2 separate regions of the Homo sapiens genome follow, and region 1 is linked to region 2. Evidence: promoter capture Hi-C in human tissues and cell types (Jung and others, 2019). All regions are on one chromosome and are shown on one strand. The core of a region is centred on a gene start or on the middle of the fragment in contact, and the rest is flanking DNA. Distances in the headings are between cores, read along the strand shown.

The links. The method cuts DNA at HindIII sites, captures the fragments that hold promoters and counts their contacts. A contact is called where the count stands out against the background at its distance.
Region 1: a contact is called between a fragment that was not itself captured here and the fragment with the promoter of BRINP2 in region 2, in 3 of the 25 tissues and cell types used here (dorsolateral prefrontal cortex, hippocampus and psoas muscle).

Annotation. Positions count from the first base shown.
Region 1 is chr1:177,069,155-177,074,526 of GRCh38, reverse strand. All of the region lies in intron 1 of ASTN1 (astrotactin 1), which reads left to right. Among named protein-coding and RNA genes, the nearest start is that of MIR488, 42 kb to the right of the region's middle. The HindIII fragment of the contact is 4,144 bases long and covers 1,459-5,372 here.
Region 2 is chr1:177,169,193-177,174,476 of GRCh38, reverse strand. BRINP2 (BMP/retinoic acid inducible neural specific 2) reads right to left here and starts at 3,519. Exons shown (of 8, transcript NM_021165.4): 1 at 2,745-3,519. RefSeq lists enhancers at 2,703-3,291, 3,292-3,881. The HindIII fragment of the contact is 8,375 bases long and covers 1-5,284 here.

The sequences.
Region 1 (5,372 bases), core at 2,281-4,780, 100 kb after region 2:
ATGGTAACAGTGGGAATCTGTACAGAGAAACCAAGCCTGAATGAGTGTCCTGTAGGGGTGTGCCATACATAGTGATCAAGGAGATCGACTTAGATTTTTAAAAAGCTTTTGATAGATCCTCCCTTTAAGATCTATTTTTTGAAAAAATGGTAAGTTACTATATTTGTTGGGCATGGAGACTCAGTTATTATGAAAGCAATATGATTAACAATCTTTATAAATGATATAGATGATACTGAACCTTATACTAAAAAGTCAAGTCAATGGAGACAGACTGTAAGAAGATCAGTGTTAGAGGGCAGAAAGGAGAGATGATTTTCCTGTGACCAACTTCAAGGTAATGCCCTCACAGGTAAAGACTCCAGCTATAGTTATGAAATAAAAGGATCTTTGTCATATCATTAATGATTCAGGAAATAACTTAGAGTTCATTAAAATCATTCTCTGAAAACACTGACCCTACATGAAGTCATGGCTAAAAAAGGGGAACAAGTGGCTTTATGAAGGATGTGAGGAACACAATAGTATTCTACCCTTATGTAGAGCTGTATTGACTTTTTTTTTTAACCAGGAATTAAAAAAGGTTATTCTTGTCACTAATCTTTAATGATAATATTAATATTACTAATAATGGTAACTCATATTTCTAAGCATTTCCATGTGCACTTTCACTTTAACAGCCCTTTGATAGATGTTTGTGTTATCTCCATTTTTTGAAAGATAGGGAAACTGAGGCATAAAGTTTTCAGAGGTAGTATGTGCAAGAGCCTTGCCTCAGATTTCGGTTTCCTGATATTAGAACCCTCCCTGTTTCTGCAGTGCCACATTACTCTGCTCTAGGGAATGTATTTAATGAACCCAGCGAACATGCACAGAAAAGTAAGTGTAATAATCAGTAGGAAGTAGGTGTGGTTCTATGAAGGTAGAATAAAAAGCCTGGCACATACTAGATGCAATAGCCAAATAAGGATGAAAGAAATATGAATGAGTCTCCTGATACAAGGCAGACTAAGAGAGGAATGTGATCCAGGCTTATCACATTAAAGTATATGTGACCTTGTTCACCAAATATTCAACTGCTAGGACTCAAAGTTTTTCAAACCCAAGGAAGATGAGTTTAGGGCAAATGAAAGGAAGTACTGCTTAACCCTGAAGGTATGATTTATATGAAACTTGCTTCCCAAAGTATAGTACAATCGCAAAATACAGATATAGTAAACAAAACAAAAAAATACTAAACAGTTTATGAATGAAAGAGACAGAGTCAGTTGCCAAGTAGCTAAGACTGACCTCAGCTTTAAGGTTGATGTCTGGGAGGATGAATGTCCCCTGGCACAGAATTACCTTCCAGCTCTGTGCCTTTTTGGCTCCAGAATGAGGAGTAGATGGAGAAGCTACCAATGCTGTATACCTCTCCCTAATTTCTGTCTTTGTGTCCTGATTTAAGGTGAATCATCCATTCATTCCAGTTACTGTCACTTTTGTTTACAATCTAGCTTATATGTGAAACTACAGCCATATTCCTTTGGGACGTGCTCTTACACATCAGAGGAAGAAAACCCAGCACTTTTTTTTTTCATTTTGCAAAACGCAACTAACATTGTTTTAGTTAAAATCTCAAACTAATGGGCCAGTGCTACCGTGAAGTATGAGAATATGAACACAGACATTCAAACACAAGCAGCACTACAGTGACCAGCACACGTAGGTGTGAGGAGTGGCACCACTGATGGGTGCCACATGGTGCATAGACTTCATCTATTTTCTGAAAGACGTTATTCATGTAGAATGCATGGCTCCTGTTTCTTATTACCAGCCCCTTAAAGTGTATTTTGTTTGGAGGGCTTGTAGAGGAGGGAGGGCTTTAGAATTAAGATAGAAAATACAGAAGGGGCAATAATAAAGAAACTGTTCTGTCAATGTATGTTATTCTCAGCTGAGCAACAAGATACCTTAGCAATCAAGTGACCTTGTATTTCTTTTAAATCATTCTCCCAGCAGGGATTAGATGGCTAAATCAACGTTTCCATGGAGCTATGCCTGTCAGGTCATTTAGAGGTCATCTTAACCCCTTCAGTGATGAGTACCTTACACAAATTAGCCTACAGAAATGGGCCCAAGGCAGTGTGGAGAGTCTTTAGACCAGTAACAAACCAAATACTATGCAGATGTGATTCTTCAGGAGAGTCTGTCACAATGAAATCACATCAGATTGCCATATGATTTGTACACTAGTGTGAATAGGTTAATAACTCAATTTCAGTCTTGGATCTATAAGCCCAAACTCTTCAAACTCCTGACAGTGTTTACTATTGATGTATATCTTCTGTATACCTAATTCATTAAGCTGAAATACAAGCATAGTGGCTCATGATTTCTCAGTGTAAATAAACATCGGTTTGGTAGACAGCACAGTCTGTAGCAAGAGCACTGTGCCAGGAGTCAGAAGGCTGTTATCTCCATCTTATTAGCTCTAACCCTTGAAATTGTCACTTACCCTCATTGGCCTTCTGGTTTCTAATTCTGTAAAGCCTACCACACAGAAATGATGAATGAAGAGAGGACCTTAGAAGAAAGGCCTTTGCAAGTTGTAACACAGGGATGATAATAAGGTATTCTTCACGTGCTTGAGTCTTTGTGGAATTCCCTCTACACTCCACTTTCTCAGGCTGAATGATGCCACAGAGATACCTAAGATTACTATCATGTCTCAGCCTTACTCTGAAGGAACTTGAGGTCCAGCCCCCATTATGGCAATTGCAAATCACAGAGAGACAAAAAATACCAGAAAGGTTTAGAGTGAGAAGAAGCTTTACAGGTCACTTATGCCCACTTTTCTGTAGGAGAAAATGGCTTATAAAGAAGAGCCAAGAGAAATGACTGGCCCTCCAGCTTGGGCTCCCTGGCTGTTTGTATGTGCAAGAAGGCAGTGCTCAGGGTCAGCAAGGTAAGCTTAGGCCTCTGTAGGAATGGGGTGGAAAGCCTGTTCCCTAGAATGAGGATGAGAATGGAAGGTTGTACTTGAGTGCAGTACTTCTTGGCATTTATGATGACAGGTGCTCACACAGACTAGTCTACAGAGAAGGACTCAGTTTACTACTGATAAAAGCATAACTGTTATTTTAATATTGCATCCATTTGCTCCTTCCCTCTTCCCTGACCACAATCACCACCCTGATGTCCTGGAAGGAACTGCCCATTTGAATTCATGAGTGCCTTGCTAAGTGCCTGACAACAAGCTCCCTGGGGCTGGCCTTGCATGCCAGCCTAGAATGGGCCTAGATAGCATGGCATCCCTCTGTGAAAGCCCCCATAGCCAAGTCTTAAAGCATAAATAGTGTACGTGGAGTTTTATCAGAGACATCTAAAGATTGTTCAATTTGCTAATGAGTACTTACAGAAATGTACAAATACGACTTGCCCTGGGCTTCTCAACTGGAACTGAGCTGATTCCTGGACTTATAGTTCCTGGACTTATGAAGACGTTTAAGCAGCTGAAGCTATTTAAAGGTATAATTTGCTTAATTCTGTCAAAGATTGTTGCTCAATTTTAGGATTTATGTGAGTGATAGTAATAATGACAACAAACAGTATTAATGATATTGATGATGATATTAGTGTTAAACTCCAGGTACTGCTAAGCACTTTGTTTGTATTATCCCAAGACTGAGATTTGCAAAGTGAGGGAATGAACGTTGAGATAGTGAAAAACAACAGTGGCCTTAAAACCAGGAGACCTAAGATTCCCCACTCAATTGCCACTCCCACCCCTACCATTCTAATATTTACTCACGGGGTGAACTTGGTCAAGTAGGTTGACTATTCTGGAACTCAAGTTCCTCATCTCTAAAATACAGATATACATACTCACACGAAAGGGTCATTGTGTATTAAGTTAGTTCATGAATACTGAAAGGGCTTCTTAGCAGAGCCAGTGCATACATTATTACTTGTTGAGTTGAATCTTAGATGATAAGAACAGAAATACAAGTGGATGAGAACTAATTAGAAATGGAGATGAATGAAAACAGTTTAGGACAGGCAACAGGCTATTCTTTTGTAACTCATTTACAGGTGATATTTAGTCATTTTCAATTCTTTTTTCCATTCATTTTATAAGGCAAGAGCCATAGAGAGGACCTTACTGAAATCGTTTAGGATCAGAAAATTATAGCAAATACTAATCTCTTTGTTAATGAAAGACCAGGAGTATAAGACAGAGGATTTGGAATGAACAGATCTCTCACTGGGTCTAGTATACAGTTTTCTTACAATCACCCTGTGACCAGTGTTTTGACTTTTTCCAAAATTCCGGCATCCATGTTGCTCCCAACACATCACTGCAGGAGAGTGGCCCTCAAGGACTTGCAAAGCTCAAATCAGAATTCCAGTCGTGAAACTTCAGGCTTCAAAATGACTTATTCTCATTACAATGTATGAAATGATCTGTAAATACATATTTTAACATTATGGAGTTTAAATATTATTACATACCTTACTTGATGTCAGATTCCATTAAATGCCTGCTGTTATCTCAATTTACAAAAGTCAGTCGGGTGGCAGTGGAGAATAGAAATAGATATAAGTAAAAAATCCTTTTACCAGTGTATTTGCAGCTCAGATAACCCTGCCTTTTTCAAAAAGCTTTGGGCTTTTTTTTTTTTCTTTATCCTTTCAAATGAGACTTTAATGAGTATCATGTGGATAAACTCTTTGCAGAGGTTTGAAAAGATCCAGAGAAACACTGTGGTAGGAACAAGCAAATCAGTTTGGATGAAATCACAAGTCATTCGAATGCCTCCTCATCTGTCTGGTTGTGTCAGAACCTTTTGGCTGCATTTTTCCCCCACAGGAATGTTTTCATCTCCATGGCTAGGTAAATAGAATGTTCATGTAGTTGCTCGATTGCTATTCATGCCAGTACAGAGTAGCGTAGAGTGACCTACTTCCAGCAGCATCCATAGAAAGCTTCACTGCTTTCCATCAAGACTGATTTAAAAAGCCACCCTCTGCTTCCCACAGCTCCCACCCCCAACTGCCCCCAGAGACAACAAACTATGGACTCTCCAGGGTGCTTATTTCCTTTCTCTCATCACTCCTGCTTCTTCAGTTGGTTCGTTTTAGTCCATCCTAGCCTTTCGGCAAAGGAGAAGCGGGTGGATGGGCAGCTTCAAAAGAAGTTAACATTGCAGATTTTTAGAGTCTAGTTCTACAAAGCGGGGAGCCACTGAGAGAGAGATCAGGCTACTCTTATCCACAGAAACAAAACTGATCAAAGGTTAATAATTCATTGAAAATTATTTGGAAGCATCTATATGTGGGTGATCTTTTTCTTACTGGGGACTGTTGATTGGAGTTTCAATAGGTCACTC
Region 2 (5,284 bases), core at 2,270-4,769:
TACATCATCATTTCCCTTTTGTCAGATGGGAGCCTAGTTTCCTAACTAGACTGCAAGATCACTGAAGGCAAGGGCAAAGGCCTATGAGACTTTTATTCTTCACTGCTTTTAAGTTAGTCCCGGAGGAGAAACCTTGTGTCATTGTAACATCTCCATCCTTACAAAGTACAGAACAACTAAATCAGATTATAATTACTAAAATCAAACCATTCCTTAGAAGAAGCCCATGGAGTCTGGGGTTGGTTCAGGAGCAGTGAGACCCAGATCCAATTCCACAGTGTCCCTTAAGTGCTGTGTGACCCTGCATAAAGCAGTTCCTCTTTCTGAGGTTCTCTGCCCTCCCTTTTCCAAGAAGGGGGCTAAAATCATTTTAGCTTTACTTCTTAGGGTAATCAAAGATAAATGAGACAATAAGCCGTGTGAGGATTAATTAGATGAGCTCTGGAAAGTGCTGTCAGCCCTTTGGAAGAGGATGCCATTATAAAATGTATACAAGGTCTTATTATTTAAGAGAAAGAGTTGAATCACCAAAAATACACTGCGCAGTGGGGAAAACAAAACACTAACCAGGAAACCTCAACTAAGCATCCCAGTCAGCAGAAAGTGCCCACGCAGATGTCTCAAGTCCCTCCAGATTACCTCTTGTTTGTGAGTTGGGGAGGGATTTCAGAGCAGTGCCTCAAGGGAGTGTATCATTTTTCTGTGATGCTCTCCAGTGGCCAGCCTGTGTCTTGGGAAAGGGGATCAGGAGAAGGTGATGACACAGGGTTGTTCTTTGCCCTTTGGCCTTGTTCAGTAAACAACCTGTCAGGAGGCCAGAAAGGAGCACGTAGAAGATAATTTTGAGGGCCAAAAAGGGAAGATGCTCCCCATCTTTGAGACCAGCCCCATGCTGACAGAGCAGGAACCTTCCTCCTTCCCCAGCCCTTTTCTCCTCACCTCCTTTCTTGTGCCCACACTGCAGCACACATCACTCCATTCTGGGAGACAAAGCCAGCTCCATTTTTGGTGAAGAGGGGAAGTAAGAGTCAAGAATGCTCCTGTCTTCTCCATGGCTGCAGCCCAGCTGTCAAACACTTTGGCGCCAGCTGACCTCCAGAAGGGGAGACTATGGTGTGACATTTGCTTCCTTTATCTCAAATATTTCACAATATACATGCTCTGTGCCTTTTCAAATTATATCCTCCTCAAAGAAGCAAGGCATGCATCTTTTCCTAGAGTAGGCAGCAGCTCTGATATTGATAAGACAGGATCATTGTGGCAGCATGTCTCGGTCATGCCCTCAGTGCTGCAAAGCAACTTATTCTGGGTGAAGGGGGACTCCAGAGGGTCATGCCTTAAACAAATAACATACACACAACTGTGTGAGTCAGGAGGGAAAGCACACAAACTCCAGCATCACTTTGCTGTTGCCTGATGTCATCAGACTGCCCCCCGGGGGATTTGGTATACTTTAGTTGCTTGGTTAATACTGGCATTGCATGTATTTTAGCGAGCATGGTCAGAGAGAGTCACTTCAACATGCACATGTCTGGAGAAGGACAGAAGCAGAAATACTTGACTTATAATATACCTTTTATCCCTCTGATTGGTCTATGCTGACATAACAATGTCCCTGCTGAATAAGGCCTAGATTACCCAACTATAAGCTTGACCTTTTATAATTGTTATCCTTTTAACAAAACATTTGTTTCTGCTCATAGCACCCTGCTCCTAGGGCTGCAAAGAGCACACACACAATTCTTTACAGAGGGGTCTGTTCAATCACATTACAGTGCATTAGCTTGAACATTGGTTAACATTTGGCTTAGGTCTATATACCCTGGATAAATATGTACCATGCAGAGGGACTGCTTGGTGAGGAGAAGAGTCCTCTGGGCTGGAACAACAGCTCACAAGTTCGTGTTCCTACTAGGCAGGAACACTCCAGGCATCCGTGATTTGGACAGGGTGCTGGACATGCTTGGTTCTTCTGTGGGCAGCCTGTTTCCTGCATACAGCTGTGAGCACAAGCACACATACATACACACACCACAGGCAGCATTCGACAGTGTACCCAGATGATCACAAAAACAGAGACAGAGATCTGCTAGATGATACCAGCACATCCCACCTTTCAGCACAGCAATGTTCTTCCCTAGTGTCTCCAGTGCTCTGCCAGGCTCAAGTCAATCAATGGGGCTTCTGCCACCACCCTGGGGAGACTATTTGCAACCTACAGGGTTCACTGTTTGGAATTTTATTTTCCTGACTGCATGTGCATGGGAAACATGCCATAGGGCTCTATGAGCACGATAATATAGATATCGTGCATTGTAACCTCAGCTCTTTGGGCTCCTTCCCAAACATAATGAACCTCCCAGCGTCAGCTGGGCAGGCAAAAGTCCTCGTCATCTTCTGCAATTATGCAGCCCTATTGAATTTTCTGAAGCTAATAGGAGTTGCACTAACTTTGAGGACTTAAACCAGGCAAAAGCAATATAGGTCAGGCAGGGAGCCCAAACCCTCTGACAGCCATGCAACACCAGGAGGCAATACCAGAGCAATCTCTAGCTCAACCCCAAAGTCCATTGCTCAACTCCACAAGACAGAAACTAGGAGAGGTGGCATCATTCCCTCTGCCTGCCACTGCCAGGCACCAGGGCAAGAGGGTTGTATGAGAGCAAAATGGTCCCTTTACCAACGGACACACCAAAAAGGACAATGAAAAGGGGAGAAAAATCACCGAAACCCTGCACTGTTACCTTGAATCCTTGCAAGAGCCCTCCTTGCTGTATCAGCTGCTCCCCAAACCTTCAACGACTGGGAGGAGACTCCTAAAAGATTCCAGGTTTTTGTGCAACATCTCCAGTGGCAGCTTTCCAAAGTTTTTACTTCATGATTTCTTGTGGTTCTTTCTCATTTGGGGAAACGCGAATGCCTCCCCCTCAGCGTGTGAGAGGGAGCGGATGTCTCTTTTCAAATTCTCTTGCTCCCCGCTTTACTGTCGGTGCCGCCGCCGCCGCCACCGCCACCGCCGCCAACGTTAGACCACTTGCCTGCTGCCTTCCCGCTGAGCAGCCAGGATCCCGGTCTCCCAGAGCATCTTTGAAGTGGGGCTTCGGCACTGGGCCGGGGCGCACGCGGGGTGGGAGAGGTAAGGGAAGTGCAAGACCCAACTGGGGGAGTCCCCTGTCCCTCCGCCGAGGAGAAACCCAAGATTTTGCCTTCTTTCCAACTCTAAAGAGACTCACCCACCCGCTCTCTCACCCGAAATCACTGCCTTGCACATGGGCAGAGACAGGTCTTCCGGCTTCACCGCTCCCTCGGCTGCCTGCAGACCTGCCACTGACCTCGGAGCGCACGGCAGGTGCACATCCCCGGGCAAGTCCTAATGGGATCCTCCGAGCTCAGCGTAAGCGCTGCCAGCGCAGCGGCGAGCAGCTTGCGAGGCAGGCGGATTGCATCCCAGAGCTGCAGCCCGGCGCGTCCCCGCTCCGACTCCGCGCTCCGTACCTAAGCAGTGTCACCTGCAGACTCAGACACCAGATGAGTGTCTTAAGATAACAATGCTGCCCTGCCTGCCTCTCTCTTTCTTTCTTATGCATGTAGGTTGGCAGCCAATGGGACACAGCGCCACACTCCCCACAGGTGCCCATTGGCTGGGCGGCTTGGCAGGGGGCGGGCTCTGAGCCTCACCGCTCTCTCCTTTGGTGAGCTGGCAGGCTGGGGTACCAGCTCTGTTAACCCTCCCAGCGTTGCAGTGGGGACTTTTTGGTGTGTATAAGGAAGCCTTGGGTACATTCACGGGTGGGGCGTTGGACACTCTTAAAAAGGCTGGGGAACAAGAAGTAGCTGGGGAGCTAATTACATTTTCTTCTAATCTTCCTGAGTTACAATAATCATTTATCCCAGCCCATTTTGTTTGCTTGCTTAACTAGAACTCCCAGAGATTGGGACCCATCTGAGCCATTTTCCATCTAATTTGAGGTTTCATTTGGTTGTTTTGTGCATTTTTTAGCCTCTTGGATTACTTAATTAGAAATGAGCCCCCAAGTGAGAAATAGTACACACACACACACACACACACACACACACACACACCCCAGAGACCCAAGAGGAGAGAGAGGCAAAAGAGAGCAAGAACCCAGTAAGATGGCTAGAGAGTGAAACAGATTTAGAGGCCAGGACAGCTAAATCAGGAAACATTCTGCCCCCACACCAGGACTGTAAGGACAAAGGCAAAGAGGAGAACTTCAGGTTTCTGGGGAGAGATTAAGTTTCAAAAATGTCCCTCCAAAAAAGGGAATTGTTTTGCCTGTGGTGTTTTCCCTCTGTGTGTCTCCTTTCACTTCTGTGTGTGTCAGGAAGAGGGACTGTGCATCTCCGTTTAGTTTTTAAAGGAAGACTAGAGAAATCAGAACAGGACCAGCCTTGTTTCTGTGAAGCAGGTGCTGTTGCTGGGCCTGTGAATTGAAAGAGAGGGAGGGAGGAAAAAAGGGAGGGAGGTGGAGGGAAAAGGGAGGAAAGGAGAAGGGAAGAAAATATTAACTTTACATTGAAGTGTGAAGTATATATTTTTGATATCCTAATGAGGGTACAAAACTGAAACATGTCCCGCTAACTAGCATACTAAACTAGATTTTGGCAGGAGCATAGGAAAAAGAGTAATAGTTGAAGAAAAATCCAATTCAAGGGAAGAGCTGGGGGCTGGAGCTGGGGAAGGAACTTGGGAGATCCATGCTAAGTCATGTGGTGGGGGAAGTATGAAGAAGATAAATATATAGTCAGAAAGCGAGAGGAGTCTTTCAATTTAGTTTCCTTAAATGGAGAGCAACATCGGAGATTATTTTGTAAAGAACTAGAAAAAAAAAGTATGTAGAGATTTAATGAATGTGTAAGAAGTACACATGGAGATTAGCTAAACTGCATCAAGTAGCCGTAAGTTCTGAATGAATAAAGAAAAATTAGAAATTTTCTTCATTCATCCCCTCAGACTCACACATCTATCACTTTCACCTATATTTTCTTCTCTGTATCTTATACAACGTTGAACTTCCTTCTGCATACTGCAAGTATCTGTTTGCCTAAGCTACAAAACATGTCAGAGAATGGTGGTCCCACAGGGTCCTGAGCTCTCTTTCTAGAATAAAATAACCAAGAGAACCACTGAGAGCCTAAATCTATTGCTACCCAACTGCTGAGTTATTTACTTTTGTGATTTCTAGAGGCAGAGACCCACTGAACTTGTCCCAAGTGACAACATACTGAAATGTTAAAATAGCATAAGGGAGTGGGTAAATAG